4 separate regions of the Homo sapiens genome follow, and all the other regions are linked to region 2. Evidence: promoter capture Hi-C in 16 types of primary human blood cells and fetal thymus (Javierre and others, 2016). All regions are on one chromosome and are shown on one strand. The core of a region is centred on a gene start or on the middle of the fragment in contact, and the rest is flanking DNA. Distances in the headings are between cores, read along the strand shown.

The links. The method cuts DNA at HindIII sites, captures the fragments that hold promoters and counts their contacts. A CHiCAGO score of 5 or more calls a contact.
Region 1: the fragment with the promoter of ADAM22 here is called in contact with the fragment with the promoter of DMTF1 in region 2 in 5 of 17 cell types (fetal thymus, total CD8 T cells, non-activated CD4 T cells and 2 more); the score reaches 7.3 in fetal thymus.
Region 3: a fragment that was not itself captured here is called in contact with the fragment with the promoter of DMTF1 in region 2 in 2 of 17 cell types (total CD4 T cells and monocytes); the score reaches 5.5 in total CD4 T cells.
Region 4: a fragment that was not itself captured here is called in contact with the fragment with the promoter of DMTF1 in region 2 in 4 of 17 cell types (fetal thymus, total CD4 T cells, monocytes and 1 more); the score reaches 7.4 in fetal thymus.

The regions. Positions count from the first base shown.
Region 1 is chr7:87,932,924-87,937,379 of GRCh38, reverse strand. ADAM22 (ADAM metallopeptidase domain 22) reads right to left here and starts at 3,129. Exons shown (of 32, transcript NM_001324418.2): 1 at 2,830-3,129; 2 at 2,194-2,354. The coding sequence starts at 2,914. RefSeq lists enhancers at 1,867-1,946, 1,957-2,006, 1,555-2,132, 2,133-2,710 and a silencer at 2,817-3,226. The HindIII fragment of the contact is 4,406 bases long and covers 1,075-4,456 here.
Region 2 is chr7:87,149,333-87,154,095 of GRCh38, reverse strand. DMTF1 (cyclin D binding myb like transcription factor 1) reads right to left here and starts at 1,643. Exons shown (of 18, transcript NM_001142327.2): 1 at 1,541-1,643. DMTF1-AS1 (DMTF1 antisense RNA 1) reads left to right here and starts at 1,603. Exons shown (of 2, transcript NR_136253.1): 1 at 1,603-1,794; 2 at 2,438-2,673. RefSeq lists enhancers at 1,448-2,009, 1,855-2,094, 2,010-2,573. The HindIII fragment of the contact is 3,514 bases long and covers 348-3,861 here.
Region 3 is chr7:87,855,901-87,860,325 of GRCh38, reverse strand. SLC25A40 (solute carrier family 25 member 40) reads left to right here. Exons shown (of 12, transcript NM_018843.4): 3 at 1,575-1,695; 4 at 3,975-4,034. The coding sequence starts at 1,599. Among named protein-coding and RNA genes, the nearest start is that of SLC25A40, 18 kb to the left of the region's middle. The HindIII fragment of the contact is 3,788 bases long and covers 71-3,858 here.
Region 4 is chr7:87,892,227-87,896,792 of GRCh38, reverse strand. It overlaps DBF4 (DBF4-CDC7 kinase regulatory subunit), which reads right to left. Exons shown (of 12, transcript NM_006716.4): 7 at 283-319. Among named protein-coding and RNA genes, the nearest start is that of DBF4, 18 kb to the right of the region's middle. The HindIII fragment of the contact is 3,877 bases long and covers 1,011-4,566 here.

The DNA of each region.
Region 1 (4,456 bases), core at 1,880-4,379, 780 kb before region 2:
TCTGAGCAACTCTACAAGATGAAAGACTCCATGTCTTCACTGAAAAAATTGCAAGGGGAAAAAAAAGAAATAGAGGGGAAAGAACCACACATTAAAAGACCTTTTAGAAAACAGAAAAACAGGCTAGGCCCCCACAACTCACACCTGTAATCCCAGCATTTTGGGAGGCCGAGGCCAGCAGATGATTTGAGCCCAGGAGTTCAAGGCCAGCCTGCGCAACATGGTGAAATCCCATCTTTACAAAAACAAATTTTTAATTAGCCAGATAAGGTGGCACATGCCTGTAATCCAAGCTACTCAGGAAGCTGAGGTGGAAGGATCACTGGGGCCCAAGAGGTCAAGGCTGCTGTGAGCCATAATCGTGCTACTGCACTCCTGTCTGGGTGACAGAGTGAGACCCTGTCACAAAAAATAAATAAATAAACTAATTGCAATCTACAGACATTATCTGGGTCCTGGTCCAGACAAACTTACTTAAATATATACTCTAAATATACTCTCTCTCTCTATATATATATATATAATATATATACACACACATATAAACATTCACACACATACATATACATATATACATACATATTTACGAGAACTGGAAATTTGAAAAACAGGATATTTGATAGTAGTAAGAAATTACTCCTAATTTTTGAAAATACAGTAACATGGTTGCATTTTTAAAAGAATCCTTACTGTTTAGTGGTAAATTCCTATAATTTTTATGAATGAAATGATATGATTTGCTTCAATACAATATAGAGAGGGAAAGGAAATAGAAAAAGAAATACGTAGGGTATAGACAAAACAAGATTGGCCATGAGTTGCTAATTGTTGGAGCTGGGGGTTCATTAATTTATCCTACTCTTTTGTGTTTGAAATTTTTTATAATAAAAGGTTGCAAATGGTGTGAAAATATCCTTCCACAGAAATAATCTTAATTAATTGAAAAATACGATGACATAGGGAAACTATGGCCCCTGCTTCTTCAGTTTTACCATTGAAACGAGTCAAAATGGAAAAGGAAAATAGGCATTTACCAACCATTAATTCACATAAAAGAATCCATCATTAAAAGCTTAACATATTGGGATTTTCTACTAAAATAATCTTTGATGGATATTATGTAGCCCTTTAAGCTAATTTCCCACCTTCTATTAACAAAATGTTAACAGTACCAACTACTTGGCTACAAATACAGATTTAAGTAATATTTTCTATTTTTACATATTTCACACATACAGATAAGTTAGTATAATTATCACATCATCAAGATATATCTTAAAGCACTGATGAATATATTTATACATGTGAAAAGGTTTGGCTTGCCATTGCTTCAGTAAAGTTTACAAAAATTTTCAAGTACATGAACAAGTCCTATCTTAATATGGACTTACAGGTGGGTGAACTGCCTGATCAGCTGATGTGTAGAAATAAAAAAATACACAGCCCCAGAAGTATTTACTTAAATTTGTCAATAAATTCACAGTAATTTTCAGGCATATCTGTGAATGTGTGATCTTGATTTAAATACAGATACAGTGATAAAAACTAGATTTTTAAAAACATAATTTATAAATGCTCAACAAACAGCACAGCCCTAATTAAACCAAGAGAACTGCTACCAATAAAGAAAGTCGGAGGAGGACACCTTTTCTAGAAGGTAGGGGTGAATGGGCATATCTCTGGTGTCCACAAATGTGTGCGAATAGAACCTTAAAGTTCAGCTTGTTTTTACAGTTGGGTTTCTTAAGAACGTCTAGCCTTGTTTTTTTCCAATTTTTTCTTACAGTGTCAACCTTGGGTTAAATCACTTATGAAGTCTCTTTGAGGAGTAAAACAACAACAATGATGATTCAAACCCTGCCCAAATACTACCTCCCTTCTCGCTGTGCATGCCTGGCTTTTGCTTGACAGATGTCAGAGGGCTCTCCGCCTGTTCTCTCAGCTCACCGCACTGCTGAAGGCACCCCGCACAAACTCCCCTCGGGCAAAGCCCTCGGCCTGTGGTTATTTTGGTTCTTTTTTGTACCCTTTTCCCCTTCTTTTTTGCACAGGGAGCGCCATGCATGACTCGCATCGGGACCCAACTCATTTCACCCAAGAAGACATGGGATCTCCAGGGCAACCGAGCGCAATCGTGGGGTCTCGGGTGGGCCGGGAGGCGCGGAGGACCACCTCCCGGACCGAGCCTCTCACCTGCGGGCCACCGAGGTCGCCCCGCACCCGCGTGTCGAGCGCGTCGTGCCGACTTTCGTCTTCGCCGCCCGAGCGGTAGATGAGGCGCAGTGGCACGATGCTCTGGCGCTCCACGAAGCGGTTTTCCTTCCTCTTCTCTAGCTCCATCAATGAGGCGTCTCCTCCAGGCAGGAACCGGGAAAGGAGGGAGTGGAGAGAAAAGGCGAAAATAATGACCCTGACCCTCACTCCTCCATCCTGCAGTCCTACGTCTCCCCTACGAAAATCCCCACCGCCCCCTCCCTCTCGGAACCCAACTGGGAAGGACGCAGAGACACCAGCCCGAGAGCCTTGGACCAGCTCATCCGAGAGCAACCAGGAGCGGGGCCCAGAAGCAGGGCACCCCTTTCCCATTCTCCCCATTCCTCTTCAGAAGGAGAAAAACAGGCTTTGACCGAAGGCTTCCAGTGCATCTGCGCGCCTCCACACATATATTTTTGCTCCACTTCTCACCACCCTCCCGAATTAAAAAAAAAAAAAAAAAAAATCTCCCCGCGCACTCGGGAAATGGGGATGCCCCCTTTTCAATACGCCTGAGGGCTCCAAAGATTCCCGGGAAATGGTATGGCCCAAAGGCACAGAGGACGGCTAACTTACCTGCCTGGCCGCAGCGCGCCGGAGGGCAGGTCCCCAGGACACAGAGCAGCAAGAAGGGCACGGACACAGCCACTGCCGCCTGCATGGTGCTGCCGTCAGCCCGCCTCGCCCGAGACGCTCAGCTCCTCATGCCGGCGCCGCCGAGTCCGTTTCCCTCGCTCCGCGCCCCCGGGGTCCCCGCGGCCACCTCCACCCAGCCCCGGCCGGTGCTGCGGCGGCCGTGGCGCTGCAACCTCCACCGCGGCTCAGTGCTGCATTGTGCTTCGCGGACGCTTCCGCTGGCGGGGGGAGCGAGCGAGTGCTGCATTGGGCGGTTGGCTGTAGCTAAGTGGTTTCTAGCGCCTCCCACCTCATCCCCTGGCAAAGGCTCGGGCGGGCGACAAGAGCTCGGCAGGGAGCGAGCGCCCGGTGCACTCGCCCCCCGCGCGCAGGCAAGGGCGCGCGCAGGAGAGTCAGCTGGGAAATGTAGTTCTCTCTCCGTGTCCCGCTTGTCTCCACGACGGCACGGACCGTCGCGACCTCGTGACTGTGAGGTCCTCTATATCCCACAGACTGGAAGGGCGGGAGGGAAGGGCAAAAGAAAGAGATCAGCACTGGACCGCCTCCTGGCATCCGAGATGCACCAACTGGGCCGTTACAGCAGCCAGTATTCATCTGCATCGTCCTTAAAGAGCTGTTCTGTTTACCACAGATTAGTAGTTACTTAAGTTATCCGGAGAACCATACCCTCACGAATACAGTGCTAGTGAATTATTCAACAAATACAGATTGAGGATATACTATGTACCCAGCGGTTGACAACCGGAAGGACACGGGGATCAGAGGCACCTGTTCTTGGGTAAAGTTGAGCAGACAGACCACTTTTTTTTACAATACAGTGTGAAAAGTGTCATGGTTATACCTAGAGGACCATTAATTCAGTCCAGGGAGTCAAAGAGGACCTCCCAGGGAAGGTCTCTGCAGGTAATAGAGGGATGATTTAGCTTAACTCTACGGGATATTTTTGTTCTTTATTGCCAGACAGCCTCAAAACTCTACCAGATATGGGGAACTCAGTTTTCTCAGGCTGCTTATTCCATTTTCCTCTGATTCAAAATGATAGAAATTCTTGAGTATAAAACAATAATAAAATAGTTATCTACATAAAGTAATACTTGTATTTTTTAGTTTTTCAAAGTTCACATGTATTATCTGATCCTTTGGTCAAGAATTTGATTATAACTATTACTCTGATTTTATATTTATGTATGTACGTATGTATGTATGTATGTATTTTTGAGATAGGGTCTTGCTCTGTCGCCCCAACTGGAGTGCAAGTGGTGAGAACACGGCTCACTGCAGCTCAAGCTCCTGGGCTCAAGCCATCCTCCTGCCTCAGCCTCCCAAATAGCTGGGACCACAGACATGTGACACCACACCTGGCTATTTTTTGTTATTATTATTACTTTTTGTAGAGACAAGAGTCTCCCCATGATGATCAGGATGCTCTTGAACTCTTGGGCTCCACCTTGGCCTCACAAAGTGCTGGGATTGCAGATGTGAGCCACTGCACATGCCTACTCCCATTTTAGAAAGGAAAAAAATTAAGATTTAGAGGTGTGCCTTTCAAATACTGTAGCCAGTAGTT
Region 2 (4,763 bases), core at 394-2,893:
ACATGAAATCCTGTCTCTAAGTACACCATAAGAGCAAAAAGATAAGATTTTGGTGTATCGCCATAGTCATTCTTTAAATGTTAAAGTGATGGCAAATTATTCAAGTTATTAAAAGACAGTAATCCTCAGAAAGCTATTTGAAATATAATTTCAAAACCAGCTTAAAGAAATTTGAAGTAATGAAAAAACATGAAAACCCTTAACTGAAAAAAACAGATTTTGCAATACTTTCAACATAGTGGAAGAATATTTTCGTATTTGGAGCTTAAAAGCTACAAATGGTTTTCTCCCACGAATTAAAAATACAGGTATAATTTAAAATTTTCCAAATGGCGTCACTTTAAGCTTAAGACATGTCATATTAAAAAATAATTCCACAGAATATGCATTTTGTAGGACGTCCCAACATGCAGCCTCGACTGTCAGAAAGGAGGCACACATAATCAAATCCATGTACATTAAAAAGAGGTACACAAAGATGAATGAGTTGCGAAAAAAGCAACTACACAAATTCAATGAGAGAAAGGGAGGAGTCCTGACTCATACTGTATACTATTATCCTTTTCCTTATCTACACCGAGTATTTTATATAAAGACATATGCTCTATCATTCAATTGCACAAAAGGGCACTTGGCCACTTCTACTCTCAAATCTGCTCTGGAGATTGTGGTAAAACATTCTACATACCTCCCTGAAGAAATTCTCAAAGCGAAGTACATTTTAGAGAACAAAGTGGACTTAACAATTTTAAGAACTTTCTCGGAACTCGGCACAATAGGGTAATTACAACTTTACAGCCGCATTTTCCGTGCTCCACCAGGACTGTCCCCGCGCCCCAGCCCACATCCCTTCTTTAAAGAGAGTCAGACTGAGAGAGACGGTTCGGCCAGCTATCCCGATTCTCTATGTCTGGGCCGTGAATCGCCGAGCAAGGCTGAACCCCCGCAAAATTACAGAAGAATCTAAAGCGCAAACGAGGGAAAAGAACAAAAAAGCAAAGGGGGGGAAGTTGGGTCGAGACCCACCCCCACTCTCTCGACCCCACCCAAGCCTACCTCTCCTACGCTGGACCATAAAACAAAACCGAAAACGTAACAAAAATAAAAACTAAAAATAGAACACCACGAGAAAACAAGTAGGGCTTCCTTACTGTCTCCACTCCTTCTGGCCCAGTTCTCTACTCAACCTCCCGGCCCACCCCACCCCCCAGGGGTCCCGGCGCCATTTAGCTCCTCCGAAGCCGCCGCCATTTTCCGCCCCCGCCGGATCGCCGCTGTGCCTCGGCAGCCGCTCGCTTCCCTACTCTGCAGCCTGAGCCACGGGCACCGCCCGGCCCTAAGAGGGAGGCCCTGGCCGGAACGTGCGGGGACGGCAGCTGCAACGTCAGGAAGGCCAGGCTCCGACCCCGCCCGCAGTGCCCCGGCGCCGACAGCTTGCGCCAGCCGGCGGGAGCTAGCGGGCAGCAAGGGGGCCGGACAGGCTCCACTGGGCGGAGCGGCCCTGGCGGCGGTTGGAACCTGAAGGTTCCATCGCACTTACTTCCTGTTTTGGGTCCGGGCACTTTGGAAGAACCAGGATGGAAGCTCCAAAAAATACCAGGATGGAGGAAGCAGCCACGGGCGAGAGTGGCTGCAGCTGGAGTGAGCGAGCGCGACGAGCCACCGGAAACGGAGCTGCGGCCGCGCCCCGCCCCCAGCTCCCCGCACGCTGCCCCTCCCGCTCGTCTGTCCCGCTGGCGGCCCAGCGTGCTGGCTGTACGCGTCACTTCCGGCTGTGTCGGCGCGCGAAAAAAGGTCCTGGGTTGGAATGTTTGTACTGGTCTGTGGCGGTGGTTGTCGGCTGTCCTGCCAGGAAAACTCGGCACTGACTATCCCACTGCTGATGCTGTAAAAGAGGTCCTTCTGCTATGACGCAACTGTGGTTCCTCTGGTTCTGGGGACACTTAGGCCTCGCGTGCCGATTTTCATAGTTCCCTGTGGCTCCGAGCCGAGGGAGCCGCGGTGTGGAACGGAGGGAACCAGTGATCTCAGTGCTGAAGAAAACAGGGAGTGTGTGTCTTCATACTTGATTTGCCTTACCGCAGGGGCATAATATGAGATATCTGGGCGTGTTAAGTCGTTCTTGATGAAATGTGTCCTCTGTGAATGTAGTCTCACTGTTAGACTAGGAAGATGCTGTTTTGCTGTGCCCAGTTCCTCTTAAAAGTACAGATGCTCCTTGGGTTGCAGCCGTATAAACCCATCCTAAATAGAAAACGCGTTTTAATACCCTTATAAACGAAAAGGATAAATAAGCCTTTGGGTTCTGTAATGTGAGCCAGCATTCTTTGAGTGCGTATGTGACAGGTAAATGTTTTACGTATATTAAACTCATTTAATGTTCATAAGTTCTAAGTGCATCGCTACAATTATTACAAATGAATCCCATTTTACACAGGAACCAAAGAGAAGTGAAGGAATGTGTCCAAGGGCTCCCAAGTTGGCGGTGGAATTAGAATTGAAGCCTCAGCTCCAAAGCCTGTGTTCTGAACTACCCGGTTGCAGTTCACAAAATACACTTTGGCAGTACTTTCATAACGAAAACAAATGATTACAACCAGTTTACAAATGCTTTGCTTTACTGGAGGATCGACATGTTTGACTAATTTTCAAAAATAAATCTCAGAAGCAGCATTTTCTTGTGTTGATAACTTTATTACTAATTTGTGGCACTCTGCATTCTGTTGGAGTTAAGCCGTGTATCATTCCATTTTTTAATAAGTACATAATAATGTTTATGTAAGCAAAACTATGAGGCAGAATAGTATCGTGGTATGGACTCAGGCAGTCAGACCTGAGTGTGAATCTTGGCTCCATTTCTTAGTAGTGGATATGGCACTTCACCTCTTTTAGCTTTGTTTACTTTAGGAGTAATAAGATGTACCTTCCAGAATATTGTAGACAGCGTAGTTTGCATGGAATCTGACGTGTATTAAGCATTAAAAATGGTAACTAATAAACCTTAAAGCCAGGAAAGCAATACAACTACTCAAAGAGCAGTTCTAATAAAATAATAATTACATATGCAAAATTGTTGACATTAACATTGATAAGGTGGTTCCTAATGAGCCATATTTTTCATAAGACATAACCATATAGGATTATTTTTGCTAAGGCACAAAATAGTGATATATAAATTATAGTCGGGCTATCCATTCTCCTCTGCTAAATTTTAGGTCAGCCTGCACGCTGCTAACTCCCCGCAAAAAGTCAAGTGCATCCTCATAACTAAATTCTCCCTTTCTGGTTGAGTTTCTTTTATAACTACCTTTTCCCAAGTCAATTGGTATTTATTTGGGGATGACAAATGTATTTTAATATTAGCTTAATGCATAATTTAAAAAAATATAATAACGTCTCTATCCCTTTAGCTTGAATAATCAATGTAAAGACTATCCATAACACAACTTGATTCCTAGAGCAATTTTCTGCAGTTATACTTCTATGTTATCCGTACCTCATTATTTAGTCAATGTGTACCTAGGGAATGGATGAGGTTTTAAATATTATCCAAGGATTTACCTATTTAGGAATTAAATGTTTTGTAGAAAAATCATTAGAAGTATTTCTATCCTAAACAATAATTATTAAAGTATTTATAGCTTAGCTATGGTATTTACTGCATTTGCTAGTTAAAATTGACTTTGTTGGACTCCAGGTGTCTATAACACTTTTGTGAACCTCATCAGTGATTGATGATGAAATTGCCTTTTATGACAGGTTGATATATTAATATAAAGTATTTCAAATACTGAGAAGCAGGTTCTGTTGTTTCATGATCATCTTTTGCTAATTCAGAAAAAAAAAAGATGTTTATAAGCTTTTGTTCAAAGTAAAAGAAAATTACAATTACTGAGTAATTTTCTTTCTACACAGGCTCTGAGTCCTGTTAATATAGCTGATGGGTATACACTGTAGGGCCTTCCAGCTGATGGAGATTGCTGTGCTAATGGAGGAATGAATAAACTGTCCCAGTTATGCCCACACACCAGGCTTTACCAGGTGGTCTCCTGTCTCAGATTCTTCCTGTAGGCTTCCCTCTGGGCCTTATGACACTCCATCTTACAATCCTTTTCCCGCCTTGCATTTTGCCTATGTGTCTCATCTCTGCAATCCTTTTAATACCTCAGCCTGGTGACAACCTCTCTATATCCACTTCACTTTTTTCTTCTTTTGTGGTAAATCTTTGTTGAGACCTATTGATAGAATATTAGCCAGAAAAGTGTTTCCTTATCAAGGGAATGGAGAGCTAAGGCGTCCAATACTCCTAGCCAATAAGGATAAAAATTTTTGTTCTGTCTTTGTAATTTTGGTGTGCAAAACAAAACAGTTCAGATACTTCACTAAAACAGGATAATATCCAGACCCAGACTCAAAGACCTGTTCCTTTATAATCTAGCATGGAAGAGAGAGGGACAATGTATTAGTTAACTAAGCAATAATTGCCATGTTTTGTAAGTTCTGAGAAAGATACAACTTGGGTGCTCTGAAAGTGAACTTTTACATAGAGAGTTCAGAGTAGGCCTTTCTGAGAAGATACTTAAGCAGAAAGGTAAGAATAAAGAAGCATAGTAGGGGGTGCAAGGTGGGAAAGCATTTGTCAAGCTAGTGCATGAAAGCATATTTGCAGAAAGCAACTGGCTTGTAAAATGTTTATAAAATGGTGAAAGCAGAGCACTGCCAGGTGATAGGCTGTCCCTTGCAAATGTTAGCTGAATTTCTCA
Region 3 (4,425 bases), core at 715-3,214, 710 kb before region 2:
GAGAATTTGATAAGTCATGGATAAGTAGGAACTCTCATATTGCCAGTAGAAGTATAGATTGATCCAAGCTTTCTGGAAAGCATCATGGCAATTTGTATGACGTTTTTTTTGTTGTTGTTGTTTTGATTTTGACATGTAGTCTTCTCTGTCACCTAGGCTGGAGTGCAGTAATGCGATCTTGGCTCATTGCAACTTCTGCCTCCTGGGTTAAAGGGATTCTCATGCCTCAGTCCCCCACGGAACTGGGACTACAGGTTTGCGCCACCATGCCCTGCTAATTTTTTGTATTTTTAGTAGAGACTGGATTTCACCATGTTGGCCAGGCTGGTCTCAAACTCCTGACCTCAGGTAATCCACCTGCCTTGGCCTCCCAAAGTGCTAGGATTACAGGTGTGAGCCACCACACCTGGCCCTGTATCAAGTTTTAAAATAGCTTATCCCATCAATCTTACTATCTTTCCTACAGTAATTGTAGGAAGGTTACAAAAATATATATATGTATGTATAAGAATGTTATAGCAGAATATTTTATAGTTTGGAAATTGGCAACAACCTGATATCTAACAATCTGAAACTGATTAAATAAATATAATTAACTACCGTGCAAGCAATAAAAATGTAAATCTGTTTTTATTGACACAATGTCTATAATGTGTTTTTAAGTGTTAAAGCAGCCTACTAAACAAGCAAAATAGTATTGACCTGTTTTTCAGAAAAGCTGTATGTACACGGACACATAAGTGTACGTGTGTTTGATTAATATACAATATTTGGTTAGATGTAATGTGTGTGTATAGACATATACATATGTATGTGTGTATGTTCATAGACATTTGGAAAGATGACATTCCTGTTGCTGGTGATTATTATTATTATTTTTTTTTGAGACAGAGTCTTGCTCTGTTGCCCAGGCTGGAGTGCAGTGGTGCGATCTCGGCTCACTGCAAGCTCCGCCTCCTGGGTTCACGCCATTCTCCTGCCTCAGCCTCCCGAGTAGCTGGGACTACAGACACCTGGCTAATTTTTTGTATTTTTAGTTGAGACAGGATTTCACCATGTTAGCCAGGTTGGTCTCGATCTCCCGACCTCATGATGCGCCCGCCTCGGCCTCCAAAAGTGCTGGGGTTACAGGTGTGAGCCACCACGCCTGGCCGGTGATTATTTTTGAATAGTAAGTTCATAAGTTATTTTTATACTGTTCTGTATTATCTGACTTTTTAAAACTTTTTATGTTTTTATGTTGCTTTTCTCATCAAATTTTTGTAAGATAAAACTTATTAAGGTTATGTGTTTTTATTTTACATCTGTACAACAACTACTGGTATACAATAAAGGGCTGTATTTGCTGATACCTCTGTACTCTATTGGGGAGGTTTTTTTAGTAGTGTGTATGAGGCTGAGTTCACAGACTCAGACTTAGTGGTCACCTGCTTTCATTCTGTCAGTATCTGTTTGGTTAATTCTCTCTTAGTTGTCTTACTAATGTGATGCTGCTCACCCAGCTTAGCTGAAGGATGTTATCATTTTTGAAAGATCAGAGGATGTGCTCTAATTTTATGTTTTCTTTTTAACAGGTTTTTATTTAATTAGTTAAAAATATGGATCCTGAGACAAGGGGACAAGAGATTATCAAAGTGACACCTCTTCAACAAATGCTTGCCTCATGTACTGGAGCTATACTGACATCAGTAATAGGTAAAATTATGTTACTGATGTAGATTATGTAACTTTGAATGAGTCAGTGCTTCCATTTGAGTTTTAGTATCAGTATTTCAACGTAGTTTCTTTCTATTTTCCATAAGTATTGGCTGGCTGAGAAATAAAGAGTACAAAGAGAGGAATTTTACAGCTGGGCCTCCGGGGGTGACATCACATATTGGTAGGACCGTGATTGCCCACCTGAGCTGCAAAACTAGCAAGTTTTATTAAGGATTTCAAAAGGGGAGGGGGTGTAAGAACAGGGAGTAAGGTCACAAGATCACATGCTTCAAAGGGTAAAAAGGAGAACAAAAATCACATGCTTCTGAGGAAACAGGACAAGGGCAAAATCACAGACTCCTGATAAGGGTCCAGCAAAGATCACAAGGCAAAGGGCAAAAGCAGAATTACTGATAAGGGTCTATGTTCAGCAGTGCACGTTTTGTCTTGATAAACATCTTAAACAACAGAAAAGAGGGTTTGAGAGCAGAGATCCAGTCTGACCTCAAATTTACCAGGGTGGAGTTGCCCAATCCTAGTAAGCCTGAGGGTACTGCAGGAGACCAGGGCGTATTTCAGTCTTTATCTCAACGGCATAAGACAGACACTCCCAGAGTGGCCATGTATAGACCTCCCACCAGGAATGCATTCCTTCCCCAGGGTATGAATTATTAATATTCCTTGCTAGGAAAATAATTTAGCAATATCTTCCCTACTTGCATGTCCGTTTATAGGCTATCTGCAAGAAGAAAAATATGGCTCTATTTTGCCCGACCCTGCGGGCAGTCAGACCTTATGGTTGTCTTCCCTTGTTCCCTAAAATCGCTGTTATTCTGTTCTTTTTCAAGGTGCACTTATTTCATATTGTTCAAACATACATGTTTTACAATCAATTTGTACAGTTATCACAATTATCATAGTGGCCCTGATGTGATGTACATCCTTAGCTTATAAAAATAACAGGATTAAGAGATTAAAGTAAGACAGGGGTAAGAAATTATGAAAGTATTATTTGGGAACTGGTAAATGTCCATGAAATCTTCAGAATTTATGTTCCTTTGCTGCGGCTCCACCTGGTCCCTCCATTCAGGATCCCTGACTTCCTGCAACACATACTATCATTTATGATCCATGAATGTTTCATCATATTATTATATGAAAACAACCCTGGACAGAGATTCAAGAGACTTGAGTCCTTGCTTTGCCATTCTCACGGTGAATACACTTGGGAACAGTATCTAACTTTTATTTGAACTTCATTATTTCATCTGTAAATTAGGGGCTTATAACTGGGATTTCTTTTGGGTCCCTATCAACATTAAACTTTTCTGATTCCCCATGTCTATAATAGAAAGCAAGAAGATGGAATAAAATATTAGCATAATGAATAATACAGAATTTTCACAATTTATGTTCGTAACAATTACAAATAATCTTTACTTTGCATTAACGGAATTTCTTAAATTTCTCTGGTTCACAGTTTTCTGTTTCTTACAGTCAGCTTCTTGTAGATGTAGCCAAATGACACAGTTAGGTGATAGTTTAGCATTTTAATGATTTTTAAGTTGGCTAGTTTATGTAAATAACAAATGATTAGAACAAATAAATTAATTGCTTATGATGTATTTTCAGGTCAGAATTTGAGTTATAAAGGTCATAGAGATCATCTAATATAATTATCATCATTCTCAAGATGAGGAAAAGTTTTCTTAGAAACATTATTTGGCATTTGTTTCTACTTGGATAAAATATAGCATGCATATTAAAACTATTTTCCTTTGCTGTGCTATGCCCAAATGGAATAACATAACTTAGTGCTAAAGATGTTTTATGACTAGTTTACTCAAATTTTTATTATCTGTACCTCTTATTTGATACAGGTAAATTTAACAGATTGGGAAGACTAATATCATTTGGCTATTGATTACTTATAGAAAGTTATTCTCAAAGTCTTTTGGAACTTTTACTTCTTATATTAGAAATCATATTTTCTTATAAATACTGACTTTAATGCTAATGTAATGATAGTTGTAGGAATATTACAAATAACAGTTTAGTACTCATGAGAGAAGTAATTCGTCTGTCTTTCACTGATTAACAAAATTTAAGGGCAAAAAAATTAGAATGTTACATTCAAGACTACTTTAAGATAAATAAGCTTACCAATTATATAGCCATGAGGAAAAGTATGAATCAATGTATTTTGTGTTCTGTGTAAAACATCTATCCAATTTACAGATACCACTCGCTAATTGAAACTTAACATATCTTCATAGTGACACCCCTGGATGTTGTTAAAATTAGACTCCAAGCCCAAAACAACCCACTCCCCAAAGGTATGTGTACTAATTGCCCTAAAAATGTTATGTTTGATTTTTAAATGTTCCTGTGGTTTTTTTTTTTGCCTAACATTCATTTGCTAATTTATTAAAATTGATGCCTCTTTATCCTCATGAAAAACTTTTTTTTTCACCATTTAGTTGTACGTGATGAGGTGTAGGCAAAAAGCAAATAAATACATAATATTTATATGGACCTACTAATTAAAGCAAAGGATGGTTATGTATTTGTATTTGTGCCTCAGAGGTAAGAACAGAATTATATTTGTGAGGGACCTTAGAATCCAGCTTACTCCTGTGTCCAAAAGTTGTGCCCATGTTAGAGCATTCATGACCATCATACAACTATTGCTTGAATATAGTGATTGGAAATTTATTATTTTATCAG
Region 4 (4,566 bases), core at 1,700-4,199, 740 kb before region 2:
AGTTATCACTATTTCACAATTAAAAACTATTTTGGTAACTACATTTTAATATAATTCATTTTCTTGGTAGACTAATGATTTTTAAAGGAAACGTTTTAAAAAAAACATCATTCTGAAAATGCGGTCCACAGGCTTCACCAAACTTCACCAAGGATCTATGTTCTATAAAGACGAAGAAAGCCTTGAATAAATCATTTAGAGGGTGGTTTATATGATTTTAGAAGATCTTTTATGATTTTTCAAATGCAAACCAAATACACTTAAAGATCACAAAATACTTACTTCTTGTTTTTTGTGCACCACTACCAACTCTTTTGCCCTAAAAAAAAATATATAGTGAAAAGATTGGCTTTGAAAGTACAGTTAAAACAGCAACTGCAATTGCTCAGTATCTTCAAGATAAAAAAATCATGCAGAAAAGTGCTATATCAAAGAAGGATTATTCTTTGTTAAAAAAAACTATTGTTTTTAAATGTTTTACAATACACTCAGCAAGTACCTTGCATTCTAGCTATAATTGATTTTGACTTCATAAAAAGAAAACCAATAATGAAAAGGTAGTTAATGAAATGTTTTTTTAAAAGTCATATTATTTTTATGCCCTTATTCAGCAAAATCTTTGTATTAAATTGAATAAAGAAATTAGTCAACATTTATTAGTCAGTCAATTTAGGCAAAGATTCAATATGTTAAAGATGGATAATCAACTCCACTGATTACAACTAGAAACTCTGGACAACACTGAATAAGCAACTACCTGAAGAATGAAAAGTAAAATAAGCAGGCAGATTGTGGAAGGAAGTCAAAACTGGAACCTTCAGTCATGGAGTTAGCAGCAGTGGCAGAGCCAGCAGCTAAAACTCCTATCTTTCTGGCAGGAAGAACCAGGAATGAGGTTCAAGTGGCCAAAAATACCAAGAGAATCCCTGTATTATTTTCTTTTCTCCCACAGTTCTGCCCTGAGGGTGGGTCCCAATTAGGAGGCTGAGATTGTAAAGGTAGTACAAGCTTAAGCTAACATTGAGAAACCCTCACTTTCTGACTAGAAGACCTGGGAAAGAGGCCACTGCAAGCTGGAGATTGATCCATGAAAAGAGCAAGTTAGAGAAAGGGATCCCTAATTCCCTATATAAATCCATGCAAGTGCAGGGCTTACCTCCAAGTTGCACATGCTAAGGATAGACCCAACGCAGCATAGCAAGGGCTTTGAAAATTGAAACTGAGATTAGATCCACCCCACCCACAACCACCAAGACAGAACAGTCTGAACAAAACTGGGATGACTGTCCGCTAAAACAATGGCAGAAACAAAATCAGCATCCTACAGACTATCAGGATATAGGGCCTACACAACATTTAGAATGTCCAGTATACAGTCAAAACTTAAATTTCACATGTAAACAACCAGAAAAACATTATCAATTTTTGAGAGAAAAGGACAATCAGATGCCAACCCCAACATGTTCCTGATATTGTAATTATTAGAAAAAGACTTTAAAAGTAAAGGTAAACACACTTAAGATGAATGGAAAGAGACAAATTCTCAGCAGAAAAACTACAAATAAGAACCAAACAAAAATAATAGGACTGAAAAATATACTATCTGAGTGAGATAACAAAATTCACTGGATAAGCTCAATAGCAGAACATGTATGACACAATTAAGTATTAGTGAACTTCAAGACAAATGAATAGAAATCTCCAATTGGAAGAAAAGAGGAAACAAAAAAGACTAAGGAAAAAAGGAAAAGAGCCACAGGGATCTGTGGAATAACATCAAGATGTCTAACTTTATTGTCAACTGGAATGGTGGAAAAAGAGGGGAGAGACTAGTGAAGAAAAAAAATTAACAAAATAATAGCTGAAAACTTTCCAAACATAAATTTACACAAATCAATAAGCTCAGTGAACCAAGTGTAGGCACAATCGAACTTCTGAAACCAAAGATAAAGAAAAAAATCTTAAAAGCAGCCAGAGAAAAATGATACAGTAGATATAAATGAATACCAATTTGAGTAACTGCAGATTTCTCGTCAGAATCCATGGAGACCAGAAGACAGTTTTAGGACAAGAGTAAGGTGCTGAGACAAAGAACTCTCAATTCATGATTCTTTTTCCAGTAAAGATATGATCACATGAAGGATATCTCAGAGAATTCCTTGTGCCACCAGATTTGCTCTAAAACATGCTAAAGTAAGTCCTTCAGGCTAAAGGGATATATCCGAAGAAAACCTGTAATTTCAGGAAGGAAGAGTAATGGAAAGGTTAACATCTGGGTTAATAGGACTATTTTCCTCCTGTCGCTTTCTTTAAAACCCAACTTTTTTTTTCTTTTTTTTCCCCGAGACAGGGTCTTGCCCTGTCGCAAGCAGTGGCATGATCTTGCCTCTCTGCAACCTCCGCCTCTTGGGCTAAGGCCATCATGCCACCTCAGCCTCCTAAGCAGGTGGGACTACAGGCGCATGCCACCAGGCCTGGCTAATTTATATATATATTTTTTGTAGAGATGGGGTTTCACCATGTTGCCCAGGCTGGTCTCGAACTTCTGAGCTAAAGTGATCCACCCACCTTGGCCTCCCAAAGTGCTGGGATGACAGGTGTGAGCCACCAGGCCCAGCCCTAAAATATGACTTTTTCAAGCAAAAAGTTTAACATTGTCTGGTGACATTTTCATTATAAGAAGATGTACTAAACATTATGGCATAAAGGTTGGTGGGGAAGGTAAAAGGGCTTGAATATTTTAAGGCTTCTACATTTTATTTGAAGAAGGTAAATATTAATTCAAGATAGATTGCGAAAGGTCACACATGTATATCGTAAATCCTATAGCAACCACTAAAATAAAACAACAAAAATGAAGAGAGTTAAAAAGCTGGCAGATCAATCTGAAAGAAGGCAGGAAAGGGGGAAACAGAAATAAAATACAGAGGGCATCAGCAGAAAACTAACAGTAAGATGGTAGACCTAAATACAAGATCAATAGTTACATTAAGTATAAATCACTTAAACTACCAATTAAAAGACAGATTGCCAAATTTGATGAAAAAGACAATATCTGCAAGAAGTCCATTTTAAATATATAGATATGTTAAATGCAAAAGACTGCAAAAAGTACTATGTAAATACTAATAAAAATAAAGCCAGAATGGTCTACATCAGAGAGCAGACTTCAGAATAAGAATTAACAGGGACAGAAGAGAGAGCATTACAGAGGCTAGAAGGGTCAATTCACCAGGAAGACATAAGAAGGCCGGGCGCGGTGGCTCACGCCTGTAATCCCAGCACTTTGGGAGGCCGAGGCGGGTGGATCATGAGGTCAGGAGATCGAGACCATTCTGGCTAACAAGGTGAAACCCCGTCTCTACTAAAAATACAAAAAATTAGCCGGGCGCGGTGGCGGGCGCCTGTAGTCCCAGCTACTCGGGAGGCTGAGGCAGGAGAATGGCGTGAACCCGGGAAGCGGAGCTTGCAGTGAGCCGAGATTGCGCCACTGCAGTCCACAGTCCGGCCTGGGCGACAGAGCGAGACTCCGTCTCAAAAAAAAAAAAAAAAAAAAGAATATTAAATGTGTACATATCCAACAACAGGCTTCAAAATGACTCAAAACTGTACTAGAACTAAAAGGAAAACTAGACAAATCCACAATTTTACTTGGTAATTTCAATATCCCTCTCTCTCAGTAGTGGACAGAACAAGGCCTGAGCAACATTTCTATATCCTGGATACAGAAAACATGAGCAACGCTATCACTCAAGTTGATCTAACTGACTTGTAAACAATACTGTACCCAACCACAGCAGAATATACATTTTCTTCAACTGCACATGGAATGTTACCAAGATAGACTATATTTTGGGTAACTCTGATAAATTTTTTAAAACTAAAATAATAAAAAGCACGTTATATGGCCATAACAGAATTAAAATAGAAATCAGTAAACAGAAAGATAGCTGAAAAATTCCTATTTGGAAACAAATGATAAAAGTAACCCCACAGGACAATGAGTAAGTCACAAGAGAAATTTAAAAATATTTTTAATTGAATAAAGATGAAAATCCAACCTATCAGCAACAGGAACTCTCATTCATTGCTGGTGGGAATACAAAATGGCACAACTACTTTGGAAGACAGTTTGGCATATTATAACAAAACTAAACCTAGTCTTACTATGTGAAGCAGCAATCATACTCTTTGGTTATTTACCCAAATGAGTTGACAATATGTCCACAAAAAAACCCTGCACGTGGATATTTACATTAGCTTTATGCATAACTGCCAGAACTTGGAAGCAACCAAGATGTCCTTTAGTAGGTAAATGGATAAACTGTGCTGCATATAGAAAATGAAATATTACTCAGATTTTAAAAAGAGCTGTCAAGCCATGAAAAGACATGGAGGAACCTTAAATAAGCATTACCAAGTGAAAGAAGCCAATCAAAAAAGGAAACACACTGTATGATTCCAACTATATGACACTGTGGAAAAGGCAAAACCATGGTGAATGTAAAAGCATCAGGAGTTATCTGGGGTTTAAGGGAATGGGGGGATAAACACGGAAGATTTTTA